Linked DNA regions of Homo sapiens: all the other regions are linked to region 3. The links are contacts of gene promoters, found by promoter capture Hi-C in human tissues and cell types (Jung and others, 2019). All regions are on one chromosome and are shown on one strand. Each heading gives the region's core, a stretch centred on a gene start or on the middle of the fragment in contact. The rest is flanking DNA. Distances are from core to core; before and after follow the strand shown.

The links. The method cuts DNA at HindIII sites, captures the fragments that hold promoters and counts their contacts. A contact is called where the count stands out against the background at its distance.
Region 1: a contact is called between a fragment that was not itself captured here and the fragment with the promoter of TDRD9 in region 3, in 5 of the 25 tissues and cell types used here (H1 embryonic stem cells, dorsolateral prefrontal cortex, heart right ventricle and 2 more).
Region 2: a fragment that was not itself captured here is called in contact with the fragment with the promoter of TDRD9 in region 3 in 12 of the 25 tissues and cell types used here (IMR-90 fibroblasts, bladder, dorsolateral prefrontal cortex and 9 more).
Region 4: a fragment that was not itself captured here is called in contact with the fragment with the promoter of TDRD9 in region 3 in 2 of the 25 tissues and cell types used here (dorsolateral prefrontal cortex and spleen).
Region 5: a contact is called between a fragment that was not itself captured here and the fragment with the promoter of TDRD9 in region 3, in 3 of the 25 tissues and cell types used here (IMR-90 fibroblasts, dorsolateral prefrontal cortex and hippocampus).
Region 6: a contact is called between a fragment that was not itself captured here and the fragment with the promoter of TDRD9 in region 3, in 2 of the 25 tissues and cell types used here (mesenchymal stem cells and thymus).
Region 7: a fragment that was not itself captured here is called in contact with the fragment with the promoter of TDRD9 in region 3 in 1 of the 25 tissues and cell types used here (lymphoblastoid cells).

What each region holds. Positions count from the first base shown.
Region 1 is chr14:103,734,886-103,738,769 of GRCh38, reverse strand. It overlaps PPP1R13B (protein phosphatase 1 regulatory subunit 13B), which reads left to right. Exons shown (of 17, transcript NM_015316.3): 14 at 1-91; 15 at 910-1,076; 16 at 2,568-2,767; 17 at 3,575-3,884. The coding sequence ends at 3,616. Among named protein-coding and RNA genes, the nearest start is that of ZFYVE21, 21 kb to the right of the region's middle. The HindIII fragment of the contact is 7,486 bases long and covers 1-3,884 here.
Region 2 is chr14:103,775,399-103,779,162 of GRCh38, reverse strand. It overlaps PPP1R13B (protein phosphatase 1 regulatory subunit 13B), which reads left to right. Exons shown (of 17, transcript NM_015316.3): 4 at 342-418. Among named protein-coding and RNA genes, the nearest start is that of ZFYVE21, 61 kb to the right of the region's middle. The HindIII fragment of the contact is 5,946 bases long and covers 1-3,764 here.
Region 3 is chr14:103,926,987-103,930,691 of GRCh38, reverse strand. It overlaps TDRD9 (tudor domain containing 9), which reads right to left and starts at 2,236. Exons shown (of 36, transcript NM_153046.3): 1 at 1,968-2,236. The coding sequence starts at 2,182. The HindIII fragment of the contact is 10,851 bases long and covers 1-3,705 here.
Region 4 is chr14:103,752,670-103,756,597 of GRCh38, reverse strand. PPP1R13B (protein phosphatase 1 regulatory subunit 13B) reads left to right here. Exons shown (of 17, transcript NM_015316.3): 6 at 2,354-2,528; 7 at 3,402-3,598. Among named protein-coding and RNA genes, the nearest start is that of ZFYVE21, 39 kb to the right of the region's middle. The HindIII fragment of the contact is 9,352 bases long and covers 1-3,928 here.
Region 5 is chr14:103,717,438-103,721,490 of GRCh38, reverse strand. The region is part of intron 1 of ZFYVE21 (zinc finger FYVE-type containing 21); the gene reads right to left. Among named protein-coding and RNA genes, the nearest start is that of ZFYVE21, 3.7 kb to the right of the region's middle. RefSeq lists enhancers at 1-189, 2,807-3,317. The HindIII fragment of the contact is 3,090 bases long and covers 600-3,689 here.
Region 6 is chr14:103,692,774-103,696,767 of GRCh38, reverse strand. The region is part of intron 15 of KLC1 (kinesin light chain 1); the gene reads right to left. Among named protein-coding and RNA genes, the nearest start is that of XRCC3, 21 kb to the left of the region's middle. The HindIII fragment of the contact is 3,456 bases long and covers 1-3,102 here.
Region 7 is chr14:103,795,996-103,800,022 of GRCh38, reverse strand. It overlaps PPP1R13B (protein phosphatase 1 regulatory subunit 13B), which reads left to right. Exons shown (of 17, transcript NM_015316.3): 2 at 2,505-2,652. It overlaps LOC124900347 (small nucleolar RNA SNORD51), which reads left to right and starts at 2,675; the gene lies at 2,675-2,751. The HindIII fragment of the contact is 5,242 bases long and covers 1-4,027 here.

The DNA.
Region 1 (3,884 bases), core at 554-3,053, 190 kb after region 3:
TGCACAACGCCGTCTGCGCCGGCCACCATCACATCGTGAAGTTCCTGCTGGATTTTGGTGTCAACGTGAATGCTGCTGATAGTGATGGATGGTGAGGCCCGTAGGAGTGTGGGGTGGACAGATTTACTTTCCCTGCTTTGCATAAGGAAAACAGGCGTGTTCTAGACAATTAGGAAGCACGGAAGAGAGAATTAGAGCAAGAACACCCATCATTTCATCCTTGAAAGACAGCTGTTGCCAGGGTTTCCTTGCCTTTTTTTCCAGCCTTTTCTCTTGATGATTTTGTTAAAAACGTGGCTGTGGTTATGCTCTTTCTGTGCCTCGTCATTAACATTGCAGTCTAAGCATTCTGTGAATCATTCCATCTTCCCCTTCTCATATGTTCCGTATGGACTCTTCACACTCTGTGCTCCGTGTGAAAAGCAGCCTCAGCATCCCCCTGGGTCAGGCATGTAGGTTGTCGCATTGTTCATTCCGTTTGCCTTCGGGAGCTCTGCTGCTGGGCGAGGCGTGTTGGTCTCCTGTGGGGGTTATTTTGAACTTTCAGACAGCTGACATTGTGCTGCATTTGAATCGTGGTAAAATACACATAACATAAAATTTCACATCTTAGCTATTTTTAAATGTGTGTTTCAGTGTGTTATGTACATTCACATCACCATGCAGTGTGGCGTGAACATCTGTGGATTGGCCATTTCTTAACCCATTCCCTGTGCCCCCTTTTCAAAATGTATGTATGGTCTGAAACAATTGGCTCATGGAAATCCTGCCTTTAAAGAAACAACACTGAGACTTGATGGCACAAAGGTGAACGCCTTCCGCGAGATTCCTTAGAGGGAAATCTCTGAGGGCCACGTCCTACAGGACAGGCAGTGCCAGGCCTGCACCTTCACCCACGCTCTATTCCAGGACGCCGCTGCACTGCGCTGCCTCTTGTAACAGCGTTCACCTCTGCAAACAGCTGGTGGAGAGTGGTGCCGCCATTTTTGCCTCAACCATAAGCGACATTGAAACTGCTGCAGACAAGTGTGAGGAGATGGAGGAAGGCTACATCCAGTGCTCCCAGTTTCTATATGGTACGCAGGGGAGGCCTGGGGCCACAGTGGTGCTGTCTGCTGTGGTACTGCCATGGCAACAGTCAGCCGGTGCCAGAGAAGCTTCAGCACAGCTTTCTGTTTGTTTTTTTTAAGACAGGAGACAAGGTCTCATTCTGTCACCCAGGCTGGAGTGCAATGTCGCAATCATGGCTCACTGCAGCCTCGACCTCCCGGGCTCAATTGATCCTCCCACTTCAGCCTCCCAAGTAGCTGGGACTACAGGCTTGTCCCACCACAGCCAGCTAATTTTTTGTACTTTTTTTTTTTTTTTGTAGAGACAGTGTTTCGCCATGTTGCCCAGGGTGGTCTCGAACTTCTGGGCTCCAGCGATCTGCCCACTTTCAGCCTCCTAAAGTGCTGGGATCACAGGTGTGAGCCACCGTGCCTGGCAGCACAGCATTCTCGAGCTGTTCCACCTTCTTCAGGGGCAGCCAGGATGTCTCACTCGAGTGAAGGTCACACTGCCCCTTGTTTTCATTCCTGAAAACATGTTTGAAAGTCCATGTTGTTAGAAGGATTCTGTGCCAGATTCCCAAGAAAACAAAATGACTTGGCTGTGCTTTGCATAGATGTTCTGTACCCTTGCTTCTGGAAGCAGGGCCAGCTCCTTTCCTGGGGTGGCCTGGGGCCCTGGCCATTCCCCGGAAACATTTGATGAATGAGGCTCATGTCCTAATTAAGCTGCTTTAGCCAGGGCCGCATTTTCCAAGAGCTGGAACATCTTCTCTATTCTGAGTATTAAACAGTCACAAGTCATTTATTCCACACATTACTTGAGAACATACTATGTGCCCTACACTGGACTCTAGGTTTGAAATTATCCATGAAAACAGCCATGTGATGCCCTCTTTGGCCCAAGCTCCCACAACAGAGCCAAGCAACAAACTCTCAGGCTGTGTGGCAGGGCTAGGGGAGGCACAGCAGCCCCCAGGTGAGTCCCGCCAGTGTGAGGAGGAGGCTGCCGTCACAGTGGCACCACCACAGGGAAGGGAAGCTCCCCATGGTCACCACAACTGGGTCTCAGAAGCAGAGTGTCCCACAGAAGGGCCCTTTCTTGGGAACCCACAAGTAGCTGCTCAGTCAGGGCTCAGTTGTGTGTAGTTTGTTCATTACCATCCAAGAGCAGTCACAGCTGCTCTAGCTAGTGACTTTAGAAATCTGTTCTGGCTGTGATTGCTAAGCGTCACCTTAAGAACAGCACACTCTTGCCCTGGGGCTCAGGAGCTCGTTTGTCCTGTCTGTCCTGCAGGACTTAGAAAGGGCCGGCAGCAGGAGCAGCAGCTGGGCCGGGCAGGGGAGGTATCGGGTGGGGGCCCTAGTCTTCAATAGTGTCTCATCTCCCTCGCTGGCCTCTGTGGGGCCTGCTGAGAGCAGCCTCGGCAGCAGCACGACTGTGTCCTGTTCCTCGAGCAGGGTCCCTTGCTGCAGGCCACCCTCTGCTGAGGCCTGACCATTGCTCTCTGGCTCCAGGGGTGCAGGAAAAGCTGGGTGTGATGAACAAAGGTGTGGCGTATGCTCTGTGGGACTACGAGGCCCAGAACAGTGACGAGCTGTCCTTCCACGAAGGGGACGCCCTCACCATCCTGAGGCGCAAGGACGAAAGCGAGACTGAGTGGTGGTGGGCTCGCCTTGGAGACCGGGAGGGCTATGTGCCCAAAAACCTGCTGGGGGTGAGCACTCAGGTTACTTACTGGGAAACTAGCTGCCCGTGTCTCTGTACAGCATGCGGTCCTATCCTGCTGTGGGGCTGGGGAGGGAGGCTTCGCTTCTCTGAGCCTCAGCAGCCCCCTCTGTAGAGGGGGAGGTGCCTACTTGGCAGAGCTGGCATGAGGCTCAGGCAGGGCCCCAGGAGGTTCCCCCAGCCATGCTTATGCCATGGAGGCCCGTGCGGAGGCTGAGTGCCCCAGTGAGGGGCCGCTCAATGAGCTCGGTTCATGATGAACTTCACCAAGTGGCCCGGCTCAGCCCACCCACACTTTCCCCAATCTAGAAATCTCTGCAGCCTAGAAATTTCTCCAGTGGAGGGAGAGGTGGGAACGTGCAGGCTGCTAGCTCTGTGTTGGACTTGTGATTCCCTCAGTCCTCTGGCAGAGGGAGCTGCCTCTGCTCTCTTTGTGCCCTGCAGAGCTGCCAGGGGCTTGCTGTTGAGCCAACGTTCTTGGCCAGGCAAACACAGCAGGGAGCCAGGCAGAGACCCTTGCCCAGGGGAGCTTATGACCTTGAGAGCCACAGGCAGTCACAAGTCTTTAGGTGGCATGAAGTGTTGTGAGAAAAATAGGATATTCTGGGGGTACAAGGCACATTTTAAAGAGGGCTGGGTGGGTCTCAGTGTAGAGGTGCAGCTGAGCGTAGGCCTGAGGGACAAGGGTGCTGCACGGCTGTCCAGGGTGGCTGAGGTGAGGAGCAGGGGTCGGGTCTGGCTGGCCCTGCTCCCTGTGTGTGGCTTCCTGTCCTGACGCGGCTCCGTTGCTTCCCAGCTGTATCCACGGATCAAACCCCGACAGCGAACACTCGCCTGAACTTCCTTTTGGAGCACCGCATGGTCTTGCCAGCTACCAGGAGCCACTTAAGAGATTATTGTGCTGTTTTCCAGGAAAGCTGCAGCTAGAAAATGGTCTTAATGGTGCTCACTTTAGCAGACAGCGTCCACAATGTGAATCCTACAGTTTCCAGGTGAGGCCCTTTCTCCAGTTTGCCCATTAACTGGGAGAGGTACTTTCGCCTCCAAGGACTGAATTTTGCCAATTACTATAAATCCAAATAAATACCCACTTTCAAAACACCCAC
Region 2 (3,764 bases), core at 1,210-3,709, 150 kb after region 3:
GTGCACCACCATACCCGGCTAATTTTAAAATATTTATTGTGGAAACAAAGTCTCCCCATGTTGCTGAGGCTGGTCTAGAACTCATGGGCTCAAGCTATCTTCCTGCTTTGGCCTCCCAAAGTGCTGGGATTATAGGTGTGAGCCACTGAGCGCAGCCTGAACAACTTTATATATAAAAGATTAATTGTAAGACCATTTTTTCAACTGTACTAAAGTCTTGAATTTCTCAGCCTGGTATTTTACACTTGTGTTCAATAAATATTTGAATACATGAAGAAATGGGAGAATATTACTTTTTTCTAATACGCCTTTTGGTGAGTTTGGTTCTTTTATTTCTTTAGGTGGCCGTCAGACCCAAGAGCAACGAACTCAGAGAAATGTAATAAATGTACCTGGAGAAAAACGTACTGAAAATGGGGTAAGTGACAGTGAATTAAATTGAATTTTAAAAATTGATGGCTAGGTGCAGTGGGTTACACCTGTAATCTCAGCACTTTGGGAGGCCAAGGTGGGAGGATCACATGAGGGCAGGAGTTTGAGATCAGCTGGAGCAAGATGGTGAGACCCTCTGTCTATAAAAGGTTTTAAAAAATTAATCAGATGAGGCCAGGTGTGTGGCTCACACATGTAATCCTAGCACTTTGGGAGACTGAGGCGCACAGATCACGAGGTCAGGAGTTGAGACCAGCTTGGCCAATCTGGTGAAACCCCGTCTCTACAAAAAAATACAAAAATTAGCCAGGCATGGTGGCATGCGCCTGTAGTCCCAGCTACTCGGGAGGCTGAGGCAGGAGAATTGCTGGAACCCGGGAGGCAGAGGTTGCAGTGAGCCAAGATCGCACCACTGTACTCCAGCTTGGGCAATAGAGACTCCGTGTCAAAAAAAAAAAAAAAAAAAAGTCAGATGTGGCCAGGCGTGGTGGCTCATGCCTGTAAATCCCAGCATTTTGGGAGGCCGAGGCGGGCAGATCCCCTGAGGTCAGGAGTTCAAGACCAGGCTGGCCAATATGGTGAAACCCTGTTTCTACTAAAAATACAAAAAAATTAGCTGGGCGTGGTGGTGGGCGCCTGTAATCCCAGCTACTCAGGAGGCTGAGGCAGGAGAATCGCTTGAACCCAGGAGGCAGAGGTTGGAGTGAGCCAAGATCGCACCATTGCACTCCAGCCTGGGCAACGAGCGAAATTCCATCTCAAAAAAAAAAAAGTCAGATGTGGTAGCATCTGCCTGTAGTCCCAGCTACTCAGGAGGCTGAGGCGGGATGATGACTTGAGCCCAGGAGTTTGAGGCTGCCATGAGTCATGATTATACCACTGCACTTCAGCCTTGTCAACAGAGTAAGACCCTGTTTTTTTTTTTTTTTTAATTGCTTTTTACCGGTAGTAATGAGTTTGGGTGATAACTTATTTTTAAATAATTATTTTGGGGGTAGATATTGTCATTTCTATTGAATATTTCAAAATATTATATGAAATTATAAAGCAGCAGTCACTGAGTGGTGTTACCTATTCACATAATGGTCCATGAATCAGATCATGTCTCCTTTGGAGCAGCCCTCCACCTGCCCTTCACATGCTGCTGCCATGTCCTCTCCTGGAGCAGGCAGTGGGTGCCTCTGTGCACGTAAACACAGCATCTCTGTGGCGGCAGATGGGCTATGGGCTTAGCTTGTAGACTAAGAGTTGAGTAGGCTGACTTGCTTTGCATCTTCAGTGTTGGTTCTGGATCCTCTGTCAGGTTTTGACAGACACAATGGATGGTGGGCTGCAGTGTCTTCCTCCATCATTGTGGTATAGACTTGGAGAATAGATGGAATGCTTATCATAGGTGAGGGGAGCTGTGGAGGAGCTCTTTGTAAGAAATGTTGGTGTTGGCTGGGCGTGGTGGCTCACACCTGTAATCCTGGCACTTTGGGAGGCCAAGGTCGGTGGATCACCTGAGGTCAGGAGTTCGAGACCAGTCTGACCAATATGGTGAAACCCTATCTCTACTAAAAATACAAAAATTAGCTGGTCGTGGTGGCATGCGCCTGTAGTCCCAGCTACTCAGGAGGCTGAGACAGGAGAATCACATGAACCCAGGAGGCAGAGGTTGCAATGAGCCGAGATCGTGCCACTGCACTCCAGCCTGGGCAAGAGAGTGAGACTCCATCTCAAAAAAAGCCGAAATGTTGGTGTATGTTGAAAGAATGAACCAAATAGGGACATTTTTAATGTGGTCTTTTCTGAAAATTTGAAGATAACTGTAACAAGTAATTTTAAGACTAGAGATTGAGTTTCTTTTTTTTTTTTTTGAGGCAGAGTCTCACTCTGTCGCCCAGGCTGGAGTGCAGTGGCCTGATCTGGGCTCACTGCAAGCTCCGCCTCCCGGATTCAAGCCATTCTCCTGCCTCAGCCTCCCCAGCAGCTGGGACTACAGGCGCACACCGCCACGCCCGGCTAATTTTTTGTATTTTTAATAGAGATGGGGTTTCACCGTGTTAGCCAAGATGGTCTCAATCTCCTGACCTTGTGATCCGCCCACCTTGGCCTCCCAAAGTTCTGGGATTACAGGCGTGAGCCATCGCGCCCAGCCTGATTGAGTTTCTTTTTCTGGCTGTAACACTAACTAGGCATCTAAGCTTAGGCAAGTTCCTTCCTCACACAGGGCTGGGCATGGTGAGATACTGGTAAAGTGCATGGAATCTAGAGTGTGACTGGCCCATGTTTAGCCCACTGGCCTCGGAGCTTTCTAATGAGCTGAATTTGAGCAAGTTATTTCACCTCTCTACTTCCCAACTTATTATTGAATTGCTAGTTCTTTTATTGGCTATATTTGTGACCCTACCTCATATACTTAAATCTCTGTTTATTTGTACTATCAACTTTAAACAGTATCTCTGGACCTTGCTCTTTGTAAAATGATAATATTAGGCCCCTGCCATCTTTCCTTCCTTCCTTCCTTCCTTCCTTCCTTCCTTCCTTCCTTCCTTCCTTCCTCCCTCCCTCCCTCCCTCCTTCCCTTCCTCCCTTCCTTCCTTCCTTCCAGCTCTTGCAGCTGTACCAGACTTTCATGTTGTAAAGGTTGACAATATTTGTATATTGTTATCTAACTATAAACCTTTTTTGCTTTGTCTGTAGATTGGTTATAAAGTTGAAAACCATTTAGCAGTTTCATTATTTTAGATTTTGCAGGTATTATCCACTGCAGAGCCATGTGGTATACTAGATTATATTTTCTTCTCTTTGGTTTCAATATCATAATCCTTCTGCCACTCAGGGAGAAATATTCCTGTTGTTAAGATTATAGATTCTCCCTCTTCACATTCCTGCCTTCTGTCATTGGAGTAGAGATTTGTCCACTGCAAATCAAGAGCCTCTACAGAGTTCTTCCAGGCGGATCTGCTTCAGGACGTCTTAAGAAATAGACGCACACACACCACTGGTAGAAATTTTCATTCAGTAAATCTGGAGTGGGGCCTAGAAAACTCCCCATGTGACTATGTTGCCATGCCAAGCTTGGGAACATCCAGGTTACACTTTAGCAAGCATTTATAGCTTGTTTGTCCAACAGAATGTTGAAGATCTTTTTGAGTTCTAAGATTTACCATGGGACGGGCGCGGTGGCTAGCTCCTGTAATCCCAGCACTTTGGGAGGCCAAGGTAGGCGGATCACCTGAGGTCAGGAGTTCTAGACCAATCTGGCCAACATGGTGAAACCCTCTCTCTACTAAAGATACAAAAATTAGCTGGGCATGATGGCAGGTGCCTGTAATCCCAGCTGTTCT
Region 3 (3,705 bases), core at 987-3,486:
TGCAAACATACAAACAGCAACTCCAAAGTTGCACAAGGGGTCTCTCGGTCCCCCCTATGCCTCTAAGAACCAAATTTACCAAAGATCCCAAAGGTGTACTTGAAAGAACTCTACAAAGGCTTGAAGCAACCCACGAAAGCTTGACCCAGAGTCTGGGCCTATCCATCAAATCAGACAAGACTAACAAACAAGAGTAACTTTAAAAAAGAAAAATAAAGCCAGGCACGGTGACTCACACCTGGAATCCCAGCACTTTGGGAGGCCGACATGGGTGGACCACAAGGTCAGACCGACCTGGCCAACAAGGTGAAATGCTGTCTCTACTAAAAATACAAAATAAGCTGGGCGTGGTGGCACACGCCAGTAATCCCAGCTACTCGGGAGGCCAAGGCAGGAGAATCGCTTGAACCCAGGAGGCGGAGGTTTGTGGTGAGCCAACATTGCGCCACTGCACTCCAGCCTGGGCAACAAGAGCGAAACTATGTCTCAAAAAAAAAAAACCAAGAAAAAGAAAAACAAAACCACCTTCTCAACTGTAAAGCGTGCTGGACTTGGGGACTGAGCAAGAGTGACGGAGATACTCCAAGCTGGAAGTACTTCTCCCAGGGCCTTTTTAAAGAGCGAGAAGAGGGAGCAGGTGTTTCTACTCACCAAATCTACGTCTTTCCTCTAAAAACAGAGGATATACTCTTGCTTTTTATTTCCACCCAAATCAAGTGAACAGAGTAACTGATGGTAGCTACTTAAAGAATAGTGAGATGAGGAGGGAGTCTGTGAAACTTAACAAAGATTCAGCATTTGCACTCCTTGGTATTTACCCAATGAGTTGAAAACTTATGTCCACACAAAAACCTTGCCAAAACTTGGAAGCAGGCCGGGCGCAGTGGCTCACGCCTGTAATCCCAGCACTTTGGGAGGCTGAGGTGGGCAGATCACCTGAGGTCAGGAGTTCTAGACTAGCCTGGCCAACATGGTGAAACCCTGTCTCTATTAAAAATACAAAAATTAGCCAGGCGTGGTGGCATATGCCTGTAGCCTCAGCTACTCGGGAGGCTGAGGCAGGAGAATCGCTTGAACCTAGGAGGGGGAGATTGCAGTGAGGCGAGATGGCGCCACTCCACTCCAGCCTGGGTAACAAAGTGAGACTCCATCTCGGGGGGTGGGGGGAGAACTTGGAAGCAACCAAGCTCTCCTTCAGTAGGTGAATGGAGATAAACTGTGGTACATCCAGACAGTGGAATATTAATCAGTGCTAAAAGGAAAGAAGCTATCAAACCATGGAAAGGCATGGAGGAACCCCCAAATGCATACTAATACTAAGTGACAGAAACCCATCAAAAAGGCTACACATACTGTGTGATTCCAACTAGATGACAGTATGGAAAAGCAAAATTATGGAGACAGTAAAAAAATCAGTGGTTTCCACGTGGTGTAGGGAAAGGGAGGCAGGAACAGTGGGGCCGAGAAGATCTGTAGGTCAGTGAACTCTGTAATGCGTGACGTTAGGCGTTTGTCCAAACCCACAGAACGTCCAGTACGAGGCGTGAACCCTCCTGTAACGATGGCCTCCGGGTGACGAAGACGCAGCGATGCAGGTTCGCCGACTGTCACAAATACCCACACCTTACGCAGATGCTCACAGGGGAAACTCTGGGAGGGAAGGGGCCTATGGGACCTCTGCCCTCCGCTCCGTTATCCTGAAAACCTGAGTGCCTCAAAAACTAGTCTGTTAAACATTAAGAACTGAAAAAAAAAAAAAAAAAAAAACCTCTAGCTCAGCTTCCTTACAGGCACCGCTCTGGGCCGCGCGTCGGGTTGTGTAGTGACCACTCGCCCTGGACGGTCAGGGGTCCCTGGAGCCCCGCGAGAGGGCACGGGCTCGCGAGAAGGATCTGGATGGCCCGTGCCCTCGTCGCCAGGCCTCGCCCGGCCGCCCTCCAGCCGCCTCCGCCCCGCCCGCGTCCTACCTTTCGAACGCAGCGGCCGGCCGGGCCGGAGCTTGGGCCAGAGCCGGAGCCTGGGCCGCGGGACCAGCGCCGGGGGCCACGTCCTGGCGCTGCACCTCCTCCCTGGCCGCCCCTGCCGGGAAGGCGGGCGGCGCGCCCAGCAGCTCCACATTGGTCACCGTCTTGCCGATGGTGAACCAGTCGTTGATCTGCTCGATGGTGAGCTTCCGCAGCATCCTCAAGGCCCAGGCGTCGGCATCCCCCAACTGCCGGGTCTCCGCGGCGGGAACAGGCGACGGCGGAAGCGCACCCTGGAAGCCCCGCCCCCGCTCGAGGCCTTCCAATCAGAACGCGCCGCGCGCCCTTGTGGGCGGGCTCCGGCCCGGGCGCGTGCTGCCCGCGCTGCCTGGTCCTCGTGCCGCCGGCCCCGCCCCGCCGCGCTAGGCCTGCCGGGAGCCGCCGCCCCGAGCGAGCCCAGGGTGAGCCTTTCTAGGACCTCAGGGGAAGCTTGAGCGCCGCGGCTGGCCCGGGAGTCTGTTTCACGGGAGTTCCGTGGCAACCCCTGTGTGTACAAGAAAATGCCCTCCGGTCACTCCCTGGCCTCTCTATTTAGAGGCTGCTGCCTCGGAGGTTTGTGCGCTTTGAGCGGACCGGGACCCTACATACGTTTCTTGAGCACCTCAGGGTGAGGAGATGGAAGGCAAACCAGAGAAGGGATTTGCGTTCGTGGGTCAGACGTACCAGGACATCCTTGCACCTAATATGGGGGGAGAGGGGCAAGAAGAAGGTCAGGAAGGTCTCGGAGAAAGTAACGCCAGGCAGACCCCTGCAGGATACGGGGGAATGCGCCAGACGGAGGACCACCCAGGGTTATAGGGGAGGGCAGGCGGCCCTGATGGCTGAGGTGAGGATCTGGGAGAAGTTCTTTGCAGCCGGATCATAACTGAATTCATCTTCCTTCCTAAACCGGTGTCTCAGGCGGCGGTGTCAGACTCACAGCTGGACACAAACAGGTGCGGACAGGAGGTCCAGGCGATCACATGGACCAAAGATACAGGCTGAGGTGGTCCCGGCCGAGCTCTAGAAGAGTGAGGGTGGAGAACAGAGCCCTAGCAAACTCCCCAAAAGAAGGAGCCGCGGGAAGAAATCAACAAAGGATGCACGGGAAGGCAGCCACGTGTGCAAGGGAAGGGAGGGTCAGAAGAGAGACATGGCCACCTGCCTGGGGTGTGTCCCCCTCACTGGCCAGGGCAGGATCTATCTGGCCCATGTGGGCTCTCAGGAAAGAGCCATGTGAACAAATACAGAGACGGTATCGAGAGCATGGCTCTAATCAGCAGTGTAAAGCCCAAGCAGTGGCAAATAAGAGGGCGGTTTGAAAACACTGTAGACAGAAATCAGGCAGGTAGGTTGAGCTATTGGTGTCTCAAAAATTGAACCCATAATCATACTAAGCCAGGAGTTCTGGCTCCAAATCCTGGCATAATGAGCTCTAGACCTCATATTAGGACTCTGCCAAATACGACAGGTTCCCAAAAGTGCCTCAACACACTTTGCCAGGAAGAAATAACTTGCTTTTCTTTTTTCTTTTGAGGCAGGGTCTCACTCCTGTCGCTGAGGCTGGAGTGCCGTGCTGCAATCAGGGCTCACTGCAGCCTCAACTTCGGGGGCTCAGGTGATGCTCCCACCACAACCTCCTGCATAGCTGGAACTACAGGCTCACGCCACCACCACACCGGCTAATTTTTTATATTTTTAG
Region 4 (3,928 bases), core at 280-2,779, 170 kb after region 3:
ATGTGCTACTCTAGGCTGGACTTGTTTGGTTTATTACAGTGCGGAGTATAGATAATGCTTATTATATATACTGAGTTCTACACTGGTTATTGAAACTCGAATCTTTCTAAGTAATGGTTTAGTCATATTTAATTGAAACATCAGATGTATCACACATGCCTGCTGGAAATGATTCATGTTGTAAATGATCTTAAAATATTCTGAAACTGGCCGGGCGTGGTGGCTTATACCTGTAATCCCAGCACTTTGGGAGGCCGAGGCAGGTGGATCATCTGAGGTCAGGAGTTCGAGACCAGCCTGGCCAACATGGTGAAACCCTGTCTATACTAAAAATACAAAAATTAGCCAGATGTAGTGGCTAACGCCTGTAATCCCAGCCACTCAGGCTGAGCAGGAGAATCTCTTGAAGCCGGCGGTGGAGGTTGCAGTGAGCTGAGATCGCGCCATTGCACTGCAGCCTGGGTGACAGAGCAAGACTCTGTCTCAAAATGAAAAAAAAAAAGAAAAAAAAATTCCAAACTGGCTTTAAAGATAACATTTAAACATTACCAACTAGGTTCTTATTGCTTTCTTCTGTAGAGAGATTTTCTTTATGACTAAAATGTCCAATCTGATTTTTTAAAATTTATTGAATGACTGTATATACTTCATTGTACTATCCACTTTTATGTAAATAATAATTTGGGTTGGACTTGTTTTAAAAAGTTGTCTCAATATTTATTGGATTTATGAGAAAATGATTAAAAGTTAAGTTCAATTGGAAAGTACTTTATCCCATTAATAAGATTTCTAAGATAAAATATACATAGTATTATGTCATTGTAAAAATTTTCTAATTCTGCTTTTTATTTTTTTCCAAATATTGATCCAAGAGTATTGCTGTTCAAAATAGTTATAGATATTTTCAGTAATGTGAATCACAAGTTAATGCTACATCTTAAATATTTAAGCACATATTGTTTTACCTTAGAGTGTAGTATGTAGTGCCTTCATAATCACACCTTAAACCTCTCCCTATGTAGGTGTATTTTATGCATACATATGGGATCATGAATACTTAATGTTGACTCTTTAAGGTATGTTTTCACATTAATAGGGAAAACCCTATTGAAGAATGTTGCATATATTGTTATTTTTAGATTGTTCTGGTATTGTTTGACTCTAAAATGTTTCCTTATTGAAGAAAATAATCCTGAAGAAGCAGACACTTCCTTGATTGTTCAGTATCACAACAAATTGAAGATTTATCTCTTTACTGATCACCTTTATCTCTTTTCAGTGTAAAATTCTCTGCTGGTCAGTGTTCATTTCCTTTAGGAAATGAATTAGATTCTTGGAAGCCACTTTGTAGCAGCAGGAAATGTATTACTTGCACCAGGAAAGTAAGGCTCACTGGAACATCACGGATGTGATAGAGTGAAGAGGAGACTGTGTTAGTGCATGTTCTCCTGCTGGAAGGTTTTCTGCAGAAGCGCTTATATTAACTGGTGTAGATGAGTGTAATAAAACCCTCTCTCACCGGGCGCGGTGGCTCACGCCTGTAATCCCAGCACTTTGGGAGGCCGAGGCGGGTGGATCACGAGGTCAGGAGATCGAGACCATCCTGGCTAACACAGTGAAACCCTGTCTCTACTAAAAAAATACAAAAAAATTAGCTGGGCATGGTGGTGGGCGCCTGTAGTCCCAGCTACTCGGTAGACTGAGTCAGGAGAATGGTGTGAACCCGGGAGGCAGAGCTTGCAGTGAGCCGAGATCATGCCACTGCACTCCAGCCTGGGCAACAGAGCGAGACTCCGTCTCAAAAGAAAAAAAAAAGAAGAAAAAGAAAACCCTCTCTCTTAAAAATCCCGCAGCTCTTACTATTTCATACTTAGGTACGCCCAGTAATTTCAGTTTTTTATGGTCTGATATAAGATTCCTCTAGTGTTTTAGTATTCTTTAAGATGAGTGATACTGTAGAATACTCTCACATTTTTCTTTTTGAGTATATAAAAGTAATCATAAGTTTCAATTTTTTTTTTTTTTTTTTTTTTTTTGAGACTGAGTCTCACTCTGGCACCCAGGCTGGAGTGCAGTGGCACGATCTCAGCTCACTGCAACCTCCATCTCCTGGTTTCAAGCGATTCTTCTGCCTCAGCCTCCCAAGTAGCTGGGACTACAGGCGCACACCACGCCCAGTTACTTTGTGTATTTTTAGTAGAGACAGGGTTTCACCATGTTGGCCAGGCTGGTCTCGAACTCCTGACCTCAGGTGATCCACCTACCTCAGCCTCTCAAAGTGCTGGAATTACAGATGTGAGCCACCGCGCCCAGCCTTCAATTTTCAAAGTTACATTTTTCTTTCTTTTGTTAGGAACAGCGTTTACATTTTCTAAAGCAACAGGAGCGCCGTCAGCAGCAGTCTATTTCTGAAAATGAAAAGCTTCAGAAATTGAAAGAACGAGTTGAAGCCCAGGAGAACAAGCTGAAGAAAATTCGTGCAATGAGAGGACAAGTCGACTACAGCAAAATCATGAACGGCAATCTGTGTACGTGCCTGCAACACCCCCTCGACACCACTCTCACCAGGCCCAGATCCAGTGAAACATAGTCTAACTGCCTGACAATTCAGTCACAAATTCACAGGACTAAATAGCAAGCGTGCTCAAGTTTTGCTCTGTTATTTGCATCTAAAAGGATGGGTGGGTTAGGTTAAGTGATCTTAAAATTGTGTAGTCCCAGCTACTTGAGAGGCTGAGGTGGGAGGATTGCTTGAGCCTGGGAGGTCAAGGCTGCAGTAAGCCACGATCCGGCCAGTGCTCCCCAGCCTGAATGACAATGAGACCCTGTCTCAAAAAAAAATAAAAAGATCTCTTGCGGCCCTCAGACGCAGTAGAAAAATCCTCTTGTTACGTTGGTACCAGCGGCCCTTTGGATTAGGGTGGGGCGCTCCAAGACTTACTCATTCAGAGGGTCTGTTTTTCTTGAATAACTTAACTTGTATCCGTGCATTAAGATAAGTTATGCTGATGCTCACTTTTTTTCTGTATGAACTCTTATTTTATTCATTGGTTCAGTCTGTGCCTACTTTAAGTCACAGTGATGCACGAGAGAGGCTTGGATGGCCCTGCCTTCACAAAACCTTTGGTCTCAGAGATTTCTAAGTCACTTGAACAAACTAGCTTATGGACTGATTACCCTAAAGAATAGTCGGGAATTAATGCAAATATAATTGTTTGCTTTATGAGTAATCAGATACATGTGTCCCAAAGGCTTTTTGAAATGTGTTGTGGATTCTGCATATCACAGCTTTCTCCACGGTCTGGCACTAAATGATACTAGAATTAAGTTCAGTGTATAGAAATGAAAAAAAAAAAGGATCAACTAAATCTTTTATTCTTTTCTTGTGTGGTCAATTATAGCTGCTGAAATAGAAAGGTTCAGTGCCATGTTCCAGGAAAAGAAGCAGGAAGTACAGACTGCAATTTTAAGGGTTGATCAGCTTAGTCAGCAATTGGAAGATTTAAAGAAAGGAAAACTGAATGGGTTCCAGTCTTACAATGGCAAATTGACGGGACCAGCGGCGGTGGAGTTAAAAAGACTGTACCAAGAACTACAGGTAACTCCTGGGTCTGGCAATGGTTGTATTAAAACATTCTCATCTTTCTATCTTTCATTAGCATGGGTTGGAAACCTTAGGAAGTGGAAACAAATTAGTAGATTCTAATTTAATAATAGGCACAAGATATATTCAGTACAAAATAATTTTTTAAATGACTTGGGATAGGCCGGGTGCGGTAGCTCACGCCTATAATCCCAGCACTTTGGGAAGCCGAGGCGGGCAGATCACAAGATCAGGAGTTTGAGACCAGCCTGGCCAATATGGTGAAACCCCGTCTCTACTAAAAATAGAAAAATTAGCTGGGCGTGGTGGCGCATGCCCGTAGTC
Region 5 (4,053 bases), core at 895-3,394, 210 kb after region 3:
GGGGCGCCTGGCACTCACCTCCATGGGAGGCCTCCGTGGCCACCTTGCAGGGCCAATCACAGGCTCGGCGGGAAGCTATATGGACACAGAAGGAGCTGTCTCAAGGGAAGCGGGGCCAAGAGGGAGCGAGGATCAGGGCAGGTGCATGCAGACGGCTCCCAGTGAAATTTCGGAACACACTTCTCCTGGCTGCCTACAGGAGTCAGAGCCCTGGGCGCTTGTCCCCTCCTTGCTAGTCCAGTAAACCACAACTGACTTGCACCCACCCTGCCAGATGACATGCTCGGAGGCGGTCAAGGCAGATGCCATAAACTAGGCTTCCCGGTGGGTAAGCAAGATGGCCGCGAGCAATGAAAGAAGAAACCAGGTCAGGCGTGGTGGCCACACCTGTAATCCCAGCACTTCGGGAGGCTGAGGTGGGTGGACTGCTGGAGCTCAGGAGTTTCAGACCAGCCTGAGCAACATAGCACAACCCTGTCCCTACAAAATAAAACCTAAAAATTAGCTGGGCGTGGTGGCGGGTACCTATGGTCCCAGCTACTCGGGAGGCTGAGGCAGGAGAATGGCTTGAACCCGGGAGGTGAAGGCTGAAGTGAGCCGAGATCGCGCCACTGCACTCCAGCCTGGGTGACAGTGAGACTCCGTCTCAAACAAAACAAAAAACAGAAATCATGAAGCCCATCACTCCTCCACAGTGCGGCAGACACCAGCATGGAGCTCCTTAGAGACCTGCAGGTCGAGACCCGCTCCCCCACTCCAATGCAACAGGAACGGCCCCTCGAGGGTCACAGGGCAGCTCCTCAGAACCAGCACCCGGCCCACCCCAAAGAGTGGGGTTTGGCAGCACGCAAGAAACCAAAAGCGCCTCCATATAATCTGAAAGTATAGTTTAGGGAGTTTAAATGGATGTTCAAAAAAAGTTATAAAAAGAACCAAGTCTCAGGACACAGGCTGGACATGGACATAGGCCTGCCCTCCCTTTGAGGCTGGGGTGACAAAAAACATCAGGCCCCACCACGCACTCTGAGCTCCCACACTACAGTGAGAAGCGTCACCCACTGGCTGGTGGGGCTCCCACAGTCAACTAATTCTCAGCCCCCCAAGAACTCGCCAATCAAAAAACAATTTAAATGCATGTATCAATGCACCTTTATTGAAAGATAATCACGTTTAACTGGTAGAGCGTAACTCCTACAAACAGAAAAGGAACCCACGTCAAAGATTTACCTCATTAGTTAATGAGAGAACCAATAAGACTAAAAACCCAGTTCAAAGGAGAATCCAAAGAGCAGACATGGATACAGGCCGTGAGGAAGGAAGATATGAGTTGTAAACTGGCTCCTCTCACAGGGACCCCGCGGTGGGGTGTGTGAGAGAGGACATCAACTTCACCTCTGAGAGACAAAATCTACTTGCATCTCAGGGACTAGAAACACGTGCGTTACTATCAGTTTTCTACAATTTGAAGCTGTCAGACAGTTTGAAGACGGTGACAGGTGCAGACACTATGATCACAGCCTGGGAGGGTTATGCTACAGGCGGCCTGGCCTCCCACAGGACGCCCAGGAATCCTTTTTTGTGGCTTCAAAGTCTCAGTTTTACCTAACATCAGTAACAGCTCTCCAGCCTGGGTGACACAGCAACACCTTGTCTCAAAAAAGAAAAAGCTCTTAGCCAGCCACAGGGACCCTTGAGGAGCTCGCTGGTGTCCCTGGCAGTATCTCATGAGGCTGCTGGTTCCCAGAACACCTGTGGAGGCTCTGGCAGCCCCTGGCACCTCACAGGGGTGAGCTTTACCCAAGCGCTGAGATCCTGGAAACAATTATGAAACCCCCCACCCTGCAGTGTGCTGGGAAAGCCTTCCACCGAGAACCACCCTCCCCATACGAGCCAGAGGAGATCACAGATGCCCCCCTTGCTTACCTGCAGCAAGGCCCTCCAAATTCCCATTCTCTGCCTCAGAAAACACTGGCCATTTCTCCTCATGATCAACTGGAACACAATTCCCTTACCTGGACTTTTTTTTTTTTTTTTTTGAGACAGAGTCTTGCTCTGTCACCCAGGCTGAAGTGCAGTGGCACAATCTTGGCTCATTGCAACCTCCTCTTCCCGGTTCAAGTGATTCTCCTGCCTCAGCCTCCTGAGCTGGGATACAGGCACACACCACCACGCCCGACTAATTTTTGAATTTTTATTATTTATTTATTTATTTTGAGACGGAGTCTCGCTTGGTCGCCCAGGCTGGAGTGCAGCTGCACGATCTCAGCTCACTGCAACCTCCACTTCCTGGGTTCAAGTGATTCTCCTGTCTCAGCCTCCCAAGTAGCTGGAATTACAGGCACTCATCACCACGCCCAGCTAATTTTTGTATTCTGGCCTCAGCTCTCTGATCTGCTGGAGGTCCTGACCCTCCACTGGCCCATCCCACCTCCCCAGCTTGATTCTTTCTAGCCTTGGCCACTCCTCCCTGCAAAAGAAAAGCCCTGTCCGGCCTGGCCTGTGAGACCCTCGCAGAACTCAGGGTCCCCTGTTCTCCCCGCTGCACAGCTCCAGACGCCTCTAGCAACAGTCCTCACTTCAGATCTCTCCTCATCCGAGTCCAGGCTCGTGATCAGACGCGCACGTGCTCTCTCCTTCCTGGCTCTGAATCTAGAGTATCCATCAAAGTGTCAACCCGCCAGCATGGAGCTGCGGTCATTCTTCTGCCAGCACCACGGATGGGAGGTGGGAGGGGTGCACAGCGGCAAGGATTTTAAGGATAAAACTCAGGATCTCAGCTGCTTGTGACAAGCCCAGATGGCTGCACGCCCGGACCGCCCACCCCCAAGCCCACTGCCTTGCGTCAGTGTCGGATATTTGATGGCAGAGTCAGACAAGCCCCAGAGATCATCTGAAGCTTCCTTCACACCCCCAAAGCACCTCTATCCAAAGTGGTGTCGCACGAAGCTTTACACGCCGCCTCTGCCTCCCCTGCCCCACAGGTTCCTGAGGAGGCACAGACTGGAGAAACGATTCTCAACTGGTTCTGCGTCAGAGCCTTGAGAATCTGAGAGCTGCAGGCCACCTCTCGGAGAAAGGTGCATGTGTGCACATGCTCCCCAGGGGGTTTTGCAGCATTTTAAAGGGATAACCCTCATGGGCCCAAACTGATAAACCAGCCCGGTCAGGCAGCTGGTATTCGGGAGACGGGCACTGGGCTGGATTCAGACTCCCCTGGCTAAGAACAGAGCTGGAATGAAAATGGACCAACACGTTTACAGATATGACGATGATGCCGATCGGCACACGGCCACCAAGCCAAGGACAATGTTACCCACCTGCCAAGTTCTACCAAATTCTCCTCTCCCCATTCCAAACCACCTCAAATAAACCTATTTCCCACAACTGGTTATCTGCACATTTGAGTCACCTCCCGACAATCACCTTAGCGGCCCCAAGCACGCAGCCAGCACAGTGTAGCTCAGTGTCCCCTTCAGCATCACCACATGCCAGGCGACTGTTACCGTACATGTCCCCTCGAGCTATTGCACCTAAAGCTGGACTTTATTCCAAATCTTCCAGCCCTTACTGCCCCGTTCTAAGTTCCTCCAGAACACTGTCTTTGGTCGTTTCTGGCCTGTAAGACCATGCTCCAATACAATTCACAACGCAAAACTCAGAGACAAAGTCCATCTTATTAGAATGGTTTCTCTGTCCCCCAAGCCCACCCAATGCTAGGACCTCCCTCAGCTGCTCAGATCCCAGTTAATCATCCAAACATGGTGGGGGGCTCTGGAGGGGTATCCTGCCACCACGCCAGCGTGGGAATGAATCTTCTCTTCCACGAGGGGTGCCACCTTGACTCAAGTGTTTCAACTCCACTCAGTCGGAAGTCACCGCGGGACTGCCACACAGTGCCTCAGCAGAGGCCACAAAGAAAGGCAGGGAAAAATGCTAAACAATTCAGCTGATACCAGAAGGGCTCTGGAAGAGAGAATGAAGGAGGGGAACACAGTGGTTCACTATAAAACAGAACCGTAAGATCAGTGCATGTGTACAGCAGGGAGAAAGAAA
Region 6 (3,994 bases), core at 125-2,624, 230 kb after region 3:
CCTCACCATATTATAAAACACTAAAACCGCTTAAGTTCTTCCCCACAGAGTTGGGGAACTAATTGTAAACAGAATACACGTCTACATATCAGCCCTGAGACAGCTGGCCCCGCTGCACACGCAGCCTGCTGGCCCCAGCAAGACACGGTCAGAGCTGGTAAGTGCTCTACAGCATTCAGAAATCTGACCACAGCGTACACACAGCTCACAAGTCAGTGCAAACAGAAGCTAATGACATCCTCCAAGAAAATTCCATACAGTTATGACAATGGAAAACCTGTTATACATTGTAACGATACATCATTAGCAATGTTTAATACATCTTACTATAAACACTGAATTTCTAAGTACATGATACTCCTAGCAGCTTAATCCAGAAAACAACGATGTGAATCCCTCCAATACTGTAAACACAAGACCAAGTGCTGCCCATGAGAGTGCCCCGTGCCACCCGCGGGCACCACCGGCCTCTGAGGACCCCTGAGCCACACACTGCTGCTGCTTCAGGGAAGCATCCATGTCACAGGACTTCCCCAGGGGCCTGATTTCTGCCACAGCTGCACCAACTACCCAGAGATATGCTGTCCGCCCACAGATCCAGACGCTCCCATGCCATGGTTGCTGGGGACGGGCGCTGCACACACGGCTGCTGTGGGGGGGGGCGGGGGGCGGGGGCGCAGTGATTATTTTGACAGCAACTCTGAAGAAACAGGTGCTGACTCTCGCGTGGGGTTCCTCTCACCAGAACGACCACACACAGGAGGAGGGATGCCTGGGCCCACCACTTCTCTCCTCTGAAGGGAAAAATTCAGACCGCCAGATGGGAAATGGCTGAAATCACCGCACTTCTATTGGGTGGAAGGGTTCAAACATCGGGGACTCAGGTACTCAGATTCCCTTGCCGCCTCCCTCTGAAACACGAACCTTCCTTTATGAGCTGGCTTCAGGGAGGCCCCCTGGCTTCTCTTACCCCAACACACAGTGCTCCCACAGCCACAGTGCTGCAGAGGCCACCTCGGCCCTAAAGTCCCATGGCTGGAAGCCACAGCAGGCTCCACAGAGGCCCCACACAACCTCGTCTGCACCCATCAGTCTGAAGAGGTTAAAATTCAACTCCATATTCAGCCCTATGTTTATTCCTTCTAAATGCCCTTTTTCCTTTCCAGATAACTGTCACTAAGGGAAACTGTCTGGGTTCCAAACTCTGCTCAGCATCCTCACAGGGAGAAGGCACCCCCACCACAAGGGAAGCTCCGGAGCCCTCCTCCCTGTCGCCTGTGCACAGACATAGCCCACTACGGGGGCAGCCACGGCACCTGTCAGGGGAAGCTGCTCTACACCCCCCTTTTTTTGGGGGGGGTTGGCTTCTCACAACCCATCAAATTATATATGTATATATATGTATGTATATATATATATATATATATACACACACACACATATATATATATATACACATGGTTTTTTTTGCTAGACACAGGGACTCGCTGTGTTGCCCAAGCTGTTCTTGAACTGGGCTCAAGTGATCCTCCCGCCTCAGCCTCCCAAAGTGCTAAGATTATAGGATTACTGGCATGAACCACCGCACCCAGCCATATATATATATATAATTTAACATTTTTTCTTTTAATCCCATCCACTATTACAGAACCTATGAAATTTTCTTCAACACCTCTATGTAGCATTTAGAATGTAAGCTCCTGATCCACCAGAATCTGCAAGAATGGAGTCAGGAGCCTCAGAAAAGGAGCCACGGCCACAGGCGAGCAGCTCGGGGACAACGCTGGCTCCACAGGGCAGCTCCTGGGCCAGGCACCCGCTGGCGACTACACGGAGCTTGTCTTGTGGAAACAAACGCGCTTTCACAAACACAGCAGTCCTGCGACATGAGGCGGGATGAAACTTTGAAAGGTATTTTAAAGTCTAGCCTTGTAACAAAACCTCAGGACACTCTGTCCCCAGCCTTCGTGCCCCACGGGGAGCTTCTAGAGGCTGAAGGTGACAAGTGTGAGCCTCTGCTGTGCCACCACCCACCCTGTTACATGACAGTGGCAAGCTGAGCTTTCACGGGATGGCTGGTGTTTCACAGACCGCCCCTCCATCCCGTAGCCTAGTTGGCTGGCATGGAGGTGGCGCTGCTGAGCGTCAGCCTTTGGAATCACTGATCACCTCGGCGTCTGTTTTGTATGCTCTTTACCTATGGACTAGTTTGTGGACGGCTAAGAAATACAGCCTCAGCATTGATTTGAAAAGGTTCCTGTCAGAGTCCACCGTGCTCCCTCATTCCATAAAGCTTAAGCTTTTAAAAAGTGAAACGCCATGTTAGCCAGGATGGTCTCGATCTCCTGACCTTGTGATCCGCCTGGCGGGTGCCTGTAGTCCCAGCTACTCGGGAGGCTGAGGCAGGAGAATGGCGTGAACCCAGGAGGTGGAGCTTGCAGTGGGCCGAGATTGGGCCACTGCGCTCCAGCCTGGGCAACAGAGTTAGACTCCGTCTCAAAAAAAAAAAAAAAAAAAGTGAAACACACGTCTCTATGGGCTTCGTGTGCAGGGGCGTCCGGGAGAACACAGCTCAAAAGGGGGCATGGGGCCCCAGGGCCACAGGCATGGGGACCTTGGAAAGAGAGACCCGGAAGATGCTCCAGCTGGGAAGGAATTCACTTCCCACTGACCAGTGTCCGCTAAGCTTCAGGCTTTACTGCCATAGATCACTAAATGCCTATCGTTCTGAAAGGGGTACTTTATGTTTCCAGATTCTTAATTTACAGCCTTATTACAATATTACAATTTAAAAGAGAGTCTGGTGTCATGGCAAAAAGGTGGCAGGCAGGAAATGCAACAGCATCCGTGAGCAGGAGCCAATCCCCAGCGTGCTGAAGCCACCTCAGCGCCACCTCGGCCTCCCTGAGCCAGCCTGGCCGGGTCGCGGTCGGGGTGGCTCCTGGCACTGGGGCTGCAGGCCGAGTAACAGAATGCTGAGGCACGGCCTCCCGGGTGTTTTGAAAAGGCACCTCCAAGGTTGGTGGACGTCACTATCTAGGAAAGGAAGCCAAGGAGTGCGGCTGGCGCCTCCGGGCAGGGCGGTGAGGGGCGTGGCAGGGCGGGGCGGTCTCACACTCCCAAGACAGGTTACCTAGCCCTGCTGGCTCTCAGTGGGCCAGGTCAGTGTGGCTGGCACTCAGAGCTCGCGAGTCGGCCAGACAATTATTTCGTTCCTGCATGAAAAAACAAATAGAAAAATTACACTTAACCAGGACTTCAAATGATGCCAGCTTCAAATGGCCTCAGGCCTAACAGTACCAGCTGCACAGCTAAATCTAGGTTGGCACTCGAGAGGCCCAGGGGTCAATGTGCATGTAGAAACTCCAAGAAACTGGAGGGCAAACACTGGGTCAGCTACAGGACCCTGTAAAATGAAGAGACTTTCTTTCCTCTTGTCATTAGGGGTGCTTCAAGCAACATGTCCAGCACCCTACAAGCCTCTTTAACAGCCACCGAGAAGGGGGCTGGGGAAAAGCTTTCCCGAGATGGCTGCCTCCCAAGAGTGTTGGGGGACAGGTCGGGGCACTGGCCTGTCTGTGAGGATTAGTGGATCTGGACAACTGGGAGGGCAGTGCCTGGCCACTGTCGCGAACTCTCAGCACCAGCACAGGGGCAGGGACTGCCAAGTCCCAACAGCTCGAGCTGCCGGGTGGGCCCCAGGCACCTGAGAAACAGGTTCTAGAGCAGCCACAGGCACCCGGCCACCCACTGACAGCCACACCAAAGGGCGGAGTGGATGAAAACTCAAACGGCCTCCGTGATGGGGAAGGGAGGCAGTACTTTCAGATGTAAACCTGATGTGTCTGTGTGAGGCCCGAGCAACTGCACCGAGTGCTTCAGGTTTTAGTGTCAAACTGACAGCACGCTAGTCATCATGTTAACAGAGTTTTGAATACTTCTGAACACTGAACAACAGCTTAAGTAGACAATTAATTATTAATAGTTATAAACT
Region 7 (4,027 bases), core at 1,248-3,747, 130 kb after region 3:
TGGAGTGCAGTGGTGCGATCTTGGCTCACTGCAACCTCATGCCTCCCGGGTTCAAGTGATCCTCCTGCCTCAGCCTCCTGAGTAGCTGGGACTGCAGGTGCGTGCCACCGCGCCTGGCTAATTTTTGTATTTCTTTTGTATCAGAGTTGGGGTTTCACCAAGTTGGCCAGGCTGGTCTTGAACTCCTGACCTCAGGTGATCCACCCACCTTGGCCTCCCAAATCTGGGATTATAGATGTGAGCCACCATGCCTAGCCTAATTTTTACTTTAGGTGTATTGTTTTTAAAGTATCTCTTTCATTGTTCCACTGAGGAAAAGGGGAAAAAAAAATTTCCTTCCAATATGATGTCTTAAGATGCTAGATCAAAGTGTTAGTATTTTTTTGAAATTAAAAAAAAAAAAAACAAAAAACCCGGCACAGTGGCTCACGCCTATAATCCCAGCACTTTGGGAGGCCAAGGCAGGCGGATTACTTGAGGTCAGGAGTTCCAGATCAGCCTGGTCAATGTGGCGAAACCCTGTGTCTACTAAAAATACAAAATAAGGCTGGGCGCAATGGCTGACGCCTGTAATCCCAGCATTTTGGGAGGCCAAGGCGGGCGGATCATGAGGTCAGGAGTTCAAGACCAGCCTGGCTAACACGGTGAAACCCCGTCTCTACTGAAAATACAAAAAATTAGCCGGGCGTAGTGACGTGCGCCTGTAGTCCCAGCTACTCGGGAGGCTGAGGCAGGAGAATGGCGTGAACCCAAGAGGCAGAGCTTGCAGAGAGCCGAGATTGCGCCACTGCACTCCAGCCTGCGTGACAGAGCGAGACTCCATCTCAAAAAAATAAATAAATAAAATAAAATAAAATTAGCTGGGCGTGGTGATATGCGCCTGTAATCCCAGCTACTCAGAAGGCCAAGGCAGGAAAATTGCTTGAACTGGGGAGGCAGAGGTTGCAGTGAACCAAGATCGCGACATTGCATTCCAGCCTGGGCGACAGAGTGGGACTCTGTCTCAAGAAAAACAAACAAACAAACAAAAAAACACCAGGTGTAGTGGCTCACATTTGTAATCCCAGCACTTTGGGAGGCCAAGGCGAGAGGATTGCTTGAACTCAGGAGTTTGAGACCAGCCTGGGCAGCATGGCAATACCCTGTCTCTACAGAAAATACAAAAATTAACTGGACGTGGTGGCACATGCCTGTAGTCCCAGCTACTTGGGAGGATCTCTGGAGTCTAGGAGGCAGAAGTTGCAGTGAGCTGAGATCACGCCACTGCACTCCAGCCTGGGTGACGGAGTGAGACCCTGTCTCAAAAAAATAAAATAAAGTAAGGCTAGACGATTTTTATTTTTTCAAATACACTATAATGTATTTTTATGTTTAAGGGTCATTTATTTTTCTTTTACTGTGATATATTAATACACTTTCCTGGCTAATTTCTTTAAAGGAATTGGATTTTTGGTCTTTCTGTTATCATTTTTTAGGAGCGCTTTATGTATTGAGGGGATTAGCTTTGTATTTGTAATATGAGTTGCAAATGTTTTCCCCTACCTTGTTTTTCTGGATTATAAGAGATTCTTGGCCGGGTGTGGTGGCTCACACCTGTAATCCCAGCACTTTGGGAGGCCGAGACGGGTGGATCACGAGGTCGGGAGATCGAGACCATCCTGGCTAACACGGTGAAACCCCGTATCTACTAAAAAATATAAAAAATTAGCCGGGCGTGGTGGCGGGCGCCTGTAGTCCCAGCTACTCTGGAGGCTGAGGCAAGAGAATGGCATGAACCCGGGAGGCAGAGCTTGCAGTGAGCCGAGATCGCGCCACTGCACTCCAGCCTGGGCGACAGAGCAAGACTCCATCTCAAAAAAAAAAAAAAAAAGAGATTATTATATTTAATGTACTTGAATATCAGTCTTTTTAAAAATAGTGTCTGATTTTTGAGTCATAGTTTGAAACAGCACCTTTATTCCAAAGCTATAAAAGGGAATATACCCAGGTTTTATTCTGGACTTTTTATGGCTTTAGGGTTTGTATCTAAATATTTGATCTATTAGGAACTTCTGCTAGTGTACGATATATGGTATGAAACCATTTTTTCCACATGGATATATTTTGCTCAAACATCACTCATTGTATAGTCGTTTTCCCTCCTTGATTTTTGAGATACCTCCCTCATCATTTGCCATTTTTTTCATAGGTAATTGGGTCTATTTCTGGGGTATGACTTTGCCCCATTGATCTATATATATATCTACTGCTGTCATGTTGTTTTGAGCACTTTATAAGATAGTGCTCTTTCTTTTCTATTACTCTCCTCATTTGGAATTTTCCTGACTTGTCTTTTTCATCTTTCTACATGAACTTTAGAATCAGCTTATCTATTATTATTTCCAGAAAATAATTCTGTAGGCATTTTGGGGGCGGGGGGTGGGTAGAGGGATCACTTTAAATTTACAGATTAATCTGTTTGTGATAAGGAATCTAAATTACAGCTTTACTCTTTTGTCTTACAGATGATATTAACTGTTTTCTTGAGCAACAATGAACAGATTTTAACAGAAGTTCCTATAACACCGGAAACAACCTGTCGAGATGTTGTAGAATTTTGCAAGGAACCTGGAGAAGGCAGCTGCCATTTAGCTGAAGTGTGGAGGGGAAATGGTATGTATTAGGTCCTGTAAAGATTGTTACATTGATAAAATCAAATCACCATCTTTTAGCTAAGCTTGTGCTGGATTTGCTTTTTTTCTGATAAAGATGGGGAAAAAAAGTAACTAAGTACATATAATTTAGTATTTATCAAATGGAAAATATTGCTTGTAGTTCTTAGTTATCTGTGGTAATAAAGAACTGAGTAATTAAAATAAATGTAATTATATTGCACAGGACTGAGTTTTACAAAATGCTTTTTTGTATACTTTTTTTTTTTTTTTTGAGACAGTATCTCACTCTGTCTCCCAGGCCAGAGTGATAGATGTTTGGGCTGTCTCTCTTTTTTTTTTTTTTGGCTATTATGAATAATGCTCCTATGAACTTTCATGTACAAACTGTTTTTGTTTTTGTTTTTTGTTTTCTGACATGGAGTCTTGGTCTCTCCCACAGGCTGGAGTGCAGTGGCATGCTCTTGGTTCACTGCAACCTCCGCCTCCTGGGTTCAAACGATTCTTGTGCCTCCGCCTCCCAGTAGCTGGGGCTATAGGCGCGCACCACCACGCCTGGCTAATTTTTTGTATTTTTAGTAGAATCGGGGTTTCACCATGTTGCCCAGGCTGGTCTTGAACTCCTGAGCTCAGGCAATCCACCCACCATGGCCTCCCAAAGTGCTTGGATTACAGGCATGAGCCACCGCACCTGACAATGTACAAGTTTTTGTGTGGACATATATTTTCATATCTCTTAGTAGTATAAACCTAGGAATCTCTGGGTCATATGGTAATTCGTGTTTAACCTTTTCAAGAACCACCAGACTGTTTTCTAATGCAATTGCTTCATTTTACATTCCCTGCAGCAGTATACGAAGTATACGATGTGGAGAATTTCTGCACATTCTCATCAACACTTGATACTGTCTGCTTGAGTTTAGCCATCCTAGTAGTTGTGAAGATATGTCTTATTGTGATTGTGATTTGCATTTCCCTAATGACTAATGATGGTGAAAATCTTTTCATGTGTATATTGGCCATTTTTATATCTTCTCTGGAGAAATGTCTATTCAGTTCCTTTGCCTATTTATTTATTTATTTATTTTTGAGACAGTGTCTTTCTCTGTTGCCCAGGCTGGAGAACAGTGGCACAATCCTGGCTCACTGCAACCTCTATCTTCTGGGCTCAAGCAGTGCTCCCACCTCAGCCTCTCGTGTAGCTGGGACTACAGGCATGCACCACCATGCCCGGCTAATTTTTGTAGAAACAGGGTTTTGCCATGTTGCCCAGGGTGGTCTCAAACTCCTGGGCTCAAGTGATCCACCTGCCTGGGCCTCCCAAAGTGCTGGGATTACAGGTGTGAACCACTGCACCCCACCCCATTGCCCATTTT